Linked DNA regions of Homo sapiens: region 1 is linked to region 2. The links are contacts of gene promoters, found by promoter capture Hi-C in blood cells and fetal thymus (Javierre and others, 2016). All regions are on one chromosome and are shown on one strand. Each heading gives the region's core, a stretch centred on a gene start or on the middle of the fragment in contact. The rest is flanking DNA. Distances are from core to core; before and after follow the strand shown.

Evidence for each region. Contacts are between HindIII fragments. The CHiCAGO score rates a contact against its expected background, and 5 or more counts as called.
Region 1: a contact is called between a fragment that was not itself captured here and the fragment with the promoter of UGGT1 in region 2, in 1 of 17 cell types (non-activated CD4 T cells). The highest score is 7.4, in non-activated CD4 T cells.

Annotation. Positions count from the first base shown.
Region 1 is chr2:117,815,952-117,820,822 of GRCh38, reverse strand. DDX18 (DEAD-box helicase 18) reads right to left here. Exons shown (of 14, transcript NM_006773.4): 2 at 3,095-3,379; 3 at 1,031-1,174. Among named protein-coding and RNA genes, the nearest start is that of DDX18, 3.7 kb to the right of the region's middle. RefSeq lists silencers at 110-179, 190-239. The HindIII fragment of the contact is 4,634 bases long and covers 1-4,389 here.
Region 2 is chr2:128,089,528-128,094,683 of GRCh38, reverse strand. It overlaps UGGT1 (UDP-glucose glycoprotein glucosyltransferase 1), which reads right to left and starts at 3,484. Exons shown (of 41, transcript NM_020120.4): 1 at 3,269-3,484. The coding sequence starts at 3,326. RefSeq lists an enhancer at 3,413-3,722. The HindIII fragment of the contact is 755 bases long and covers 2,962-3,716 here.

The DNA.
Region 1 (4,871 bases), core at 823-3,322, about 10 Mb after region 2:
AAGTGAAAACATTGAGCATTAATAAAAACTGAGTGTGAAGTCAATAATAAAAAAAAAACCTGTTAATCTCACTCCAACAAGACACAGAAGAGTCAGATACAGCCACAGAATGTTAGGCTGAGCCTACGTATCAAGTAATACAGTGGTGGTTCAGCAGAAGGCATCAAAATCACCTGGGGGTTCCCCATACTCCACATGCCCAGGGTGTAAACCAATCACTCTTGACCTTGGCATTGCTGACATCTGGGCTGAATAATTCTTTGCTGTGAAACACTATCCTGTGCCTTATAAGATATTATGCAGTGTTTCTGACCTCTACTCACCAGATCCCAGCAGACTGCTCCTAGCTCTGAGAACCAAAAATGTCTCCTAGGCTTAGGATGACCAATCTTCTCAGTAGGCTAGGGACAGAGGAGATTCTTGGGATTCAGAACTTTCAGTGCTAAAACTGTTAAAGTTCTGGGCAAACCAGGAAGAGTTACTCTTCTTACTCGGGGGGCGAATTTCCCTGCTCGAGAGCTACTACCAAAACGTTTGCAATTTGGATTAAGCAGGTCTAGGGTTGGGCCTCAACATTTTAACAAACCAACCAACCCAAACCAAATAAACAACTCAAGTAACTCCTAGACATATCTGGTTAGGAGCAGTGAATTCTAGCCTAAACTCAACTTTATAAAGGAACAAAGGCCAAAGGAGGTTAACCTCGTACAGGGCCAATCATTTTCCTATTACAACATAGAATGAGACTCAGAAAAGGACAAACCAAGGAATCCTAGAAGCTGCTAGTGTGCATATAAAATATTTGGTGTCAGGAATGAACAAAAGGAAAAAAACAGGGAACAAAAAGAACTAAAACACCACAAAATAGAAGATAAAGAGAAAAAGCAGCAGAAAGATATAAAAAAAGTTTCTTGTTGATAGTTACTTTTTTCAGGTAAACTGAAAGTCACAACTGAACCTTCAAACCTATAATCCTCTAAGAGAGGCACATTTTAAAGAAGTTACCTCTAGAAAACTTCCTGGACGTTACCTGTCAGTCCCAGGGGCAGACTGGGCACCTCACTCTCATCTTCATCATTATCTGGCTTCTCCACATTATTTTCTGTTTCTTTAGTAGTCTCGGCACTTTCTTCTTCAGATTTCCCTTTGTTTTCAGTTTTTGCTTTTTTCGTATCTTTGGTTTTAAAAGACAAAATCCGAAAAAATTTTTCCTTAAAATAGAATTCCAAATGAGATCAACAAACAGAAGATCTCTGATATAAAGACGTATATTTTCAAAAGCTAAGTATATGCTGTATTAATTTGTTAAGAATTCTGTTTGGTGAAAAATGAGTGGTTGTATTTAAAAACCCAGGGTACAGACAGACTTGGTGACAAAACCTTTTAGGCTTTTGTTCAACTAAACAGTATAAACATACCAATTATAAGTTTCACATACTCCACTGAGGGGAAAGGAAGCATACCTGATTAACATAATCCTTAAAAACTCATTATAAGTAGTCATTTTTCTTCCCACGCCAATCACTATCAAAGGCTCTTCATGTTACTAGAGATAGACTGTAAAGGAAGGGCAACAACCCACTTGCCTGGCTGACATACACTGGACTGTGCCTTGGCTATCAGGGATGAGGGTGGGAGGAAAGGCAGGGCTTCTTCCCACCCTCATTTCTACATTCACAACTTTCATGTGGCCCCAACTACCTTTTCAGTCCTACCTCTCACTTCTCTTTTCAATGTTCGACTCTGGGTCAAATGGATTAACCACATGCTGTGTTTATATAAAACTATATGGCAATTAGTGATGTTTGAAAAGAACTTAGACCACAACCCAGGACTCTCTGTAGCTCAGTACTGGTCTCCTCCCTGTACCTGACGGCCACCCTTCCAGGAAAGAGTCAACTTTGTAGGACCTACATGTTCAAAAGCCACAGATATCTTCAGCTGGTCTCCATGGCTTATTTTGTTTTCCCTGGAATAGTTCCTAAAATGTACCCATAAGGTGGTTGGGTGTGGTGGCTTCTGCCTGTAATCCCAGCACTTTGGGAAGCCGAGGTGGGAGGATCACTTGAGCCCAGGAGTTCAAGACCAGCTTGGACAACACAGTGAGACCCCATCTCATAATAAAACAAACAAACAAACAAACAAACAAAAAACCCATAAGGTTAAAACGCCCAGCATTGTGATTCAATGCTTGGGAGCAGAAATAATACCACTTCCTGGGGCATACTCAAAACAAGAATTGTGAAGGCAATAATTTTAGAACAGGATTACAATGACTTCTGTGTGTAGGCATCATGAAGACAGTAATGCATGTTTGGAAAAGTTCAAAGTCCCTTTCTAAATAAAACCCTTATTTCAGGTAAAATACATGAATAGGATGTTCCAACTCAGGGGCTGGCAAACTTTCCGCAAAGGGCCAGATAGTAAATAGTTTAGGCTTTGCAGGTCATATGATCTCTGTTGCCATAAACACAACCAAATAGGCATTGCTATGACCCAGTAAAACTTTATTTACAAAAACAGGTAGAAGGAGGGATAGTTTGCTGACCCCTATCTTATCCTACCTTGATATCTCTGCTTATACAAATCTCAATTATAATGTCCATTCTTTCATCCGAGCTTACTGAAATTCCATCATCTTCAAAAAACATTCCTTCCTTTTCCTCCTGCCATTCTTAGCACTTGGAAATTAATGTTCCATTTATTCAGAAGTTTCCTACTTTATATACTTTGTAACTAATATTCCTTTCAAAGGGAGGAATTTATGGAAGGAAAATGGGAAGAATCAAGCAGGAAAAAAGGTAACTTAAAAAGAAGAGAAAATTTCTAGAATTCTAAGGAGAGTCTTTTCTGAGAGAGGTTTTCTTCAAGGTTAGTGAAATTAAAAATATATTCCTCAATATTTTGAGAAAAGTTGAAATGGACTCCCCGCTTCTGCCAATAAAATGTTTCCATTAGCTACCAGGCTAATCTCTAACATACTGGTGAGTACAGGGAATTCTCATGTCATGTGCACACAATAGTAATAGAAAGAGGAACAATAACCGTCTGTGAAAAACTAAATGGCTGAAGTTCAAAGATAATAAATACCTACCAGGCTCAGCATCATTCACCATTTTTCTCTTTTTCTTCTTTTTCTTTTTTGATTCTGAATTGGAAGACTGCATTGCTGCTTCTCCATTGGTTAATACAGTGGATTTCTGGGGAGACTTTGTAACTTTTATATTTCCCACTGCTTCTTGAGACATGCCTCCATTTTGAGTTTCTGATAAGCCCACATTCATGGGCTTTTGTTTTGATTTTTTAACCTTTCTACTTCCCATTGTTTCTTCAGATACATCTCCATTTTGAGTTTCCGATAGGGTCAGATTTGAGGCCCCTGTTTAAATAAACAGAACATATACTGTGACAAAGAAGGAGAAGTTTACTTAGAAACACTGAAATCCCAAATGAGAACTTCCATGGCTTCCTGACACAAATTATTTAGATTTTCTTCTCTTTCATGTAATTAAAACAACTTATAGTTTTATGGTGTTCCCTTATAGGGAAAGTAAGTTATCTTAAAGAAAAAATACTGGAAAAGGGAAAGCTATATTGATTTCTTAACTGCAAAAGACCGTACATCTGACTTTAAGGAGTCTAGGACAGGAAAACTTCAATGAGGTCAAATATTTAAACAGATGAGGTCAGATAATGGCAGTTACAGAATAAACATAAGTATTTGATAAACATATGATTAACTGATATATTGAAAAAGACATTTACAACTCATTCACACAAGTACTATTTTTCATACCACTTCAAAACATTCAACCCCAACTCTTCTAGACTGCAGTGAGTTGAAAATTCAGTTGATAAGACCACTTATTTGCTCCAATATTTATCATATGCAAATACAGTAATGCGTGCACAATGACATTTCTGTGAATTAAGGACAACATATACAGTGGCTCCATAAGATTATAACGGAGCTAAAAAATTCCTATCACCTAGTGCCATCAGTAACTGCAATGTCGTAGTGCAACATATTACTCATGTTTGTAGTGATGCTAGTATAAACAAATCTACTGTAATGCCAGTCGTATAAAGTACAGCACACATAATTATGTACAATACATAATACGTGATAATAAACTATGTTACTTGTTTATGTGTTTACTATACTTTTGATCATCATTTTAGAGTTTACTCCTTTTACTTATTAAAAAAAAATGAGTCGACTGTAAAAGAGCCTCAGGGAGAGAGGTATTTTAGAAGGCACTGTTATCATAGGAGATGACAGCTCCATGCCTATTGTTGCCCCTGAAGATCTTCCAGTGGGACAAGATGTGGAAGCGGAAGACAGTGAAACTGAATGTGTCTGTGTCTTTACATTTTTAACAAAAAGCTTAAAAAGAAAAAAAAATAAAATAAAAATCACATAGAATAAGGACAAAAGGAAACTTTTTGTACAGCTGTATGTACAATGTGCTTGTGTTGTAAGCTAAGTGTTATTAAAGTCAAAAGGTTAAAATTTAACAAGTTTATAATGTAAAAGTTACAGCAGGCTAAGGTTAATTTAAGAATAAAAGTATTAAAAAACTCAACAGTGTAGCCCAAGTGTACAGTGTTTATAAAGTCTATAGTGTACAGTAATGTTCTAGGCCTTCACATTCACTCACCGCTCACTGACTCGCTCAGGGTAACTTCCAGTCCTGCAAACTCCATTCATGGTAAGTACTGTATACAGAGGTACCATTTTCTAAATCTCTCATGTCATAGTCTTTTTACTGTACCTTTTCTATGTTTAGATATATTTAGCCATACATACACTTACCATTGTGTTACAATTCTCTGAGTATAGTACAGTAACATGCTGTACAGGATGACAG
Region 2 (5,156 bases), core at 2,235-4,734:
AGCCTCAGAAACCTGCTCTACAGGACACAATAGACACGGTTTGTAAAAAAAGGGAACCTTTTAGCATCAGGGCAGCTGTGATCAATTCCTGAGTTTGCTACGTACTAGCAGTTTAACCACATATATGTTACCTAACTTCCCAGGCCCTTAGTCTCGAAGACTATCAAAGTAGGAATAATAGTATCTGCCTCACAGGGTCAATGTGAAAATGAAGAGGCAATAAAAAAATCACTTTGTAAAGTGCCAAGTACTATACCAGAATTGATTGTTGTAGTAAAACATTTTATCGTAAGAAAAAACTATCTTCTAAATTACAGAATAGTACATCATCGTTATTAAATAGCCTCAAAAATACACATTGGAAATATATCCTCTGTGGCTGAGAGAAAAAATTCTCCCCAAAAGTTACAGAGTTTTTCTTTTTTTTTTAATCTGGCCTGAGTCAATGAGTTTATAAACTGGAGACAGCGCATCATATGAACTGTCTAGCAGTATTACGCTATTAGCTATGTTTACAATTTGTCCTGAAGGGGTCTAGATGTGTACACCCCAGAAAGTGGTGATTCCTGATGACGAATTGGACGCCACTGCACTGTAACCCCAGGTGGATGGCATGTAGAGTGGGGAGGAAATTGGGGGTATGACAAAGTCCCCTGAGGAAACCCCAGCATTTAACAAGCAATGACTCTGAGCTAAACATTGTATTAGGTGCTTTACATACACAGTGTTATCTAATCCTTACATACAACAACCCAGGGCACTAACGTTCTCTGAGGGGAGCAACCATGTCTACTTCGTTTACCAAAGTGCACAGCATGATGCCTGGCACTCAGAAGACAGTCCATGAATATGCTGCATGCATCTCCACTTTAAAAATAAGTGAAAGCTCGAAGATGCTGAGTACCTTGCCTAACTAATAAATAGCAGTGCTTAGAACCCACACCTTCCTGCTTTTAAAGTTCTACAATACCGTGCTCTCTTCTCTGGTTCTCTGGCTTTACAAAAGGGTAAAAAGCCATACTCTGTGCAGACTCAGACTGAGAAAAGTGCTTGTGAGAACCAAGGCAAGTCCAAGGATTTTCAGTGGCCACAGTTCTTGGGAGACAGGTGGCTGAGAAAGGAATAGTTTTAACCTGAAACCAAGGGAGGAGGCCTGAAGCTGGGACCGAAGCAATCCAACCAACCAATCTGACAGATCCACACTTACGCTGGCTTTGGGGACCGATGGGAGCTCCTCAAGAGCAGGGTGTTTTGTCTATCATGGTCTCCACGCCTAGCATTATGCCTGAAACATAGAAGGCTCTCAAAATGAAATAAACACAGGCCTCATTCATTAAGGCATGAATGGAAACAACAGGAAAGGAGTGTGGCACCAAGAGTGAAGATGCTATAAAATGCCTAGGACTGCAAGATAGGTAAAATGAAAATCCTATGAACCTGTGGCCTGCCTCGAGATCCCCCTACACTGTTTTCAAAAAGGAGAGAGAGTACGTGTTCTTGGGGAGAGATGCAGCACCATTTGAGATGAAAAAAGGAGGAAAGCTATACATTAAAAAAGAGCTTTGCCACTCTGACCCCACATTCTTAACTCTACAGGTAAAACCAGAGGAAAAGACTGTCCAGAGAAGCAGACGTAAGAATCTCACTGAAGTGGTCTCTGCTTTGAGTATGTCTTCATTTTATAGGATCCCTTATCATTCTGACCCTAGGGGTTCTTAAATGTTGCTTATAAAGACAAACAGTCTGAGATAATGGCCAACAGAATGTGCCATGTGGCTTTGCATGATAAGCATTATACTTGCGGCATGATGAATAAACAGAAAACACTCTTTAACAAGTTCTAGGCCCAACTATCAACAACCATCCGTAGGAGGCTGAGGTAGGAGGACCACCTGAGCCCAGGAGGTGGAGGCTGCAGCTAGCAAGATCATGTCACTATTCTCTAACCTGGGCAACAGAGCAAGACTCTGCCTCACCAACAAAAAATAAAAAAATAAATTAAAACACTATCTCTTGCACCATTGCACTCCAGCCTGGGTAACAAGAGTGAAACTCCATCTCAAAAAAAAAAAAAAAAAGAAAGAAAGAAAGAAAATTATCACATCATCTTGTATTGTTACAGGGAAACTTAGATAAAAAAAGAAAATGCTCACAGACAGCTGCAGGAAAGTTCTAAGCAAATTTTCTTCTTACTTTCATATATTCCCCTGAAGTTCAATGTGCATTATAAATGTGCTATGCTACTGTACAAAGTATTATGGTCACTTCCTTTAATAAGTTTCATGTGGCCAGGAGTTCAAGATCAGACTGGTAGGTAACAAGACCTCATCTCTACAAAATAAATAAATAAATAAATAAATAAGAATTTTTTTAAAATAAGCTTCAGCTAAGTTTATCAAAAGCAAGTCAAGTGTTGCTAAATTCGACTGGCTTAAAAAAAAAAAAAGCAAAGTGAAAAGGCTACAATTATTCCAAGTTTTGTGGTGCTGTTAAATAGCTATTTAAAATGTCTTCAAACGCCTGCAAGTGTAAGATTCTTGAAGGAAAGAGGGCACTTTACACTAAAATTGGCTGGCAAGTACATCAATGAATGTTTCCAAAACAGTTAGTGTAGCACAATAAGGCAAAAGACCCCAGGACTTCAAACGAACAAAATTGCTCCTTCTCAAATCTGGCAAGAAATGCAAAACAACTGCAGATTCTGGCCAAGGAACAAAAACAGTTCACATCTATAAGTTATTGGCGACGGACGCAGATCTCATTCTGGCAGGTCCCACGCTAAAAGTGAAACCATATCATCCAATTTCCAGCCAACAGATCACAGTGTTAAAAGAAAACAGTAACCAATACGCATCAACCCGAATTCATTTTAGGAAAAATTGAAATCTATTTTAAAAAGCACGTCGTTCTGCAATCAGGGTCCTGCAAAGTGCTGCTTCTCAACTCACTGAGGATCAAGCTTGGTCTAAATCCATGGTAGGATACCTCCCCCATTTCCTTCTGCACTTGGCACAAGGATCTAAAGCTCTTCAAAGAAGGTTCAAGACCGCTGAACAGAGCCCGCCGCCACCCCCGCGGAAGCGATACCTTGCCAAGAAGACCACTGAGGGCAACTCGGGGCGCTCGCGAATAGGGGAAGGGATAGGACACCAGAGGGTAAACTGAGTCACGGTAGAGGCGGAAGCTCAATGTGACAGGGGCACAGGGTCGCCTTGTGCCCCAAACCCTCTCTTTGTCCACGAGGCCTCCTCACGCCACCCCTGGGTACCTGTCACCGGCAGCGCACCCGCGGCACACGCACCGCTCGCGTCTCCCTTGCAGCCCATGCCCGGGCCGTGGTCAGTCCGCCACAGTGCCAGAGACAACGCCAGGGCAGGGCGGGGCGAGGCGGCAGCGGCAGTGCAGGCTGCGCCAGTGAGAGGCCGACACGCGCCTTTCCCGCGGCTCGACTCAACACCCAGCCTCGCAAAGCAATTGCCCAGCTGCCGGCCGCCCTTTTACTTCCGCTTCCTGCAGGCGAACGCTGGAGGACTTCCGGATACCGAGTCGAGACCTAGCAGCCCAGAGCGTCGCGCGGTCGCCCTCTCATCTCCGAGGGTTGGGGAGGGGGGAGTCCTGCCTCTCTCCTCACTTCCGCCTTTCAGGGTGGCGGGTAGGCTGCCGGTCTTCAAGGTCTTGGGAAGGTTCGTTGGGCCAACAGCTGAGACCCGAAAGCTTCAACAGTCAGTCGGTGAAATCCAGTTTGGACTCTGGGACTTACTCCCTTAAACCTTTGTTAAAAGCTTACTCCCTTTAGCCTTTCGGTGGCACAGTAAGGACAATTGTCTTAATGTTTCTGAGCATCTTAGACTTTATACTAAACCCTAAAATTTTGATAGCTACCTTCCAGGAGGCATGATGAAAGGAAGACTTTTTAAATTTTATGAGCCGCTTGAGCTTTCTTATTCGGACAGCGGCAGCTTAGTCTACAGGGACTACTTTGTCCTTTTAGTATTTTTTTTTTAACTAATATAAACCAGTTTAAAATTGTTTTGGAATAGGTAGCATTTAACCCACCCAAAAATGAATACCTCTTTGGAGGGTATATTTTTAAGTATATTAAGTCAAAGTGAATGAAAAGCCAAAAATATTTTTTTGGAGTTGGAGTCTCGCTCTGTCTCCCAGGCTGGAATGCAGTGGCGCGATCTCGGCTCACTGCAACCTCCGCGCCCCCGCCCGCGCCCCCCACCCCCCAACCCCCCGACCCGCATTCAAGCGATTCTCCCACCTCAGCCTCCCCAGTAGCTGGGATTACAGGCGTGCGCCACCGCGCCTGGCTAATTTTTGTATTTTTAGTAGAGACAGGGTTTCACCCTGTTGGCCAGGCTGGTCTCGAACTGCTGACCTCAGATGATCCACCCGCCTCGGCCTCCCAAGTGCTGGGATTACAGGCGTGACCCACTGCGCCCGGCCCAAAATAATTTTAATAAATAAACATGAGCCAACATGATGAAGGGGAGGAAGGAGAGGAGGATGAAGGAGATGACTAATGGAACACTGATGGAGGCCGGGCGCGGTGGCTCACGCTGAGGATGGAGGCTGAGGCAGGAGAATGGCGTGAACCCGGGAGGCGGAGGTTGCTTGCAGTGAGCAGAGATCGCATCACTGCACTCCAGCCTGGGCGAGAGAGGGAGACTCCATCTCAAAAAAAAAAAAAACAGCAACAACAACAGCAAAAAAACACTGATGGATTCCAACCTTCCTTTTTTTACATTTTCTCCAGTCCCTGGGAGCAAGTTGCAGTTTTTTTGTTTTTTTGTTTTTTGTTTTTTCTCTCTTGTGCTCAGTCGCCCTGTTCTTGAGGTTTCTTTTCTCTACACTATAGTTCTCAACTTATTTTGGGGGAAATAACTTCAGCAGAATACAATGGGAAAAGAGTCTCTACCCCTTTCTGTTCGAAATTCATTTTTATCCCTTCCTGTCTGAGCAAAAACTGTATAGAATCAACATCACCCCAGCTCTGTGGGAAAAAAGAAAAACCTGCTCCCTTCGCCCTGCTGGAAGCTGGAGGGCTCTAGGCCCATGTGTAGCAGAGCATTCAATTCTAGCTTTCTTCCTGCTTTCTCTGTATATTGGGCTCGGAGAGTACACTGGGTCTCTATGTGAATATGGACAGT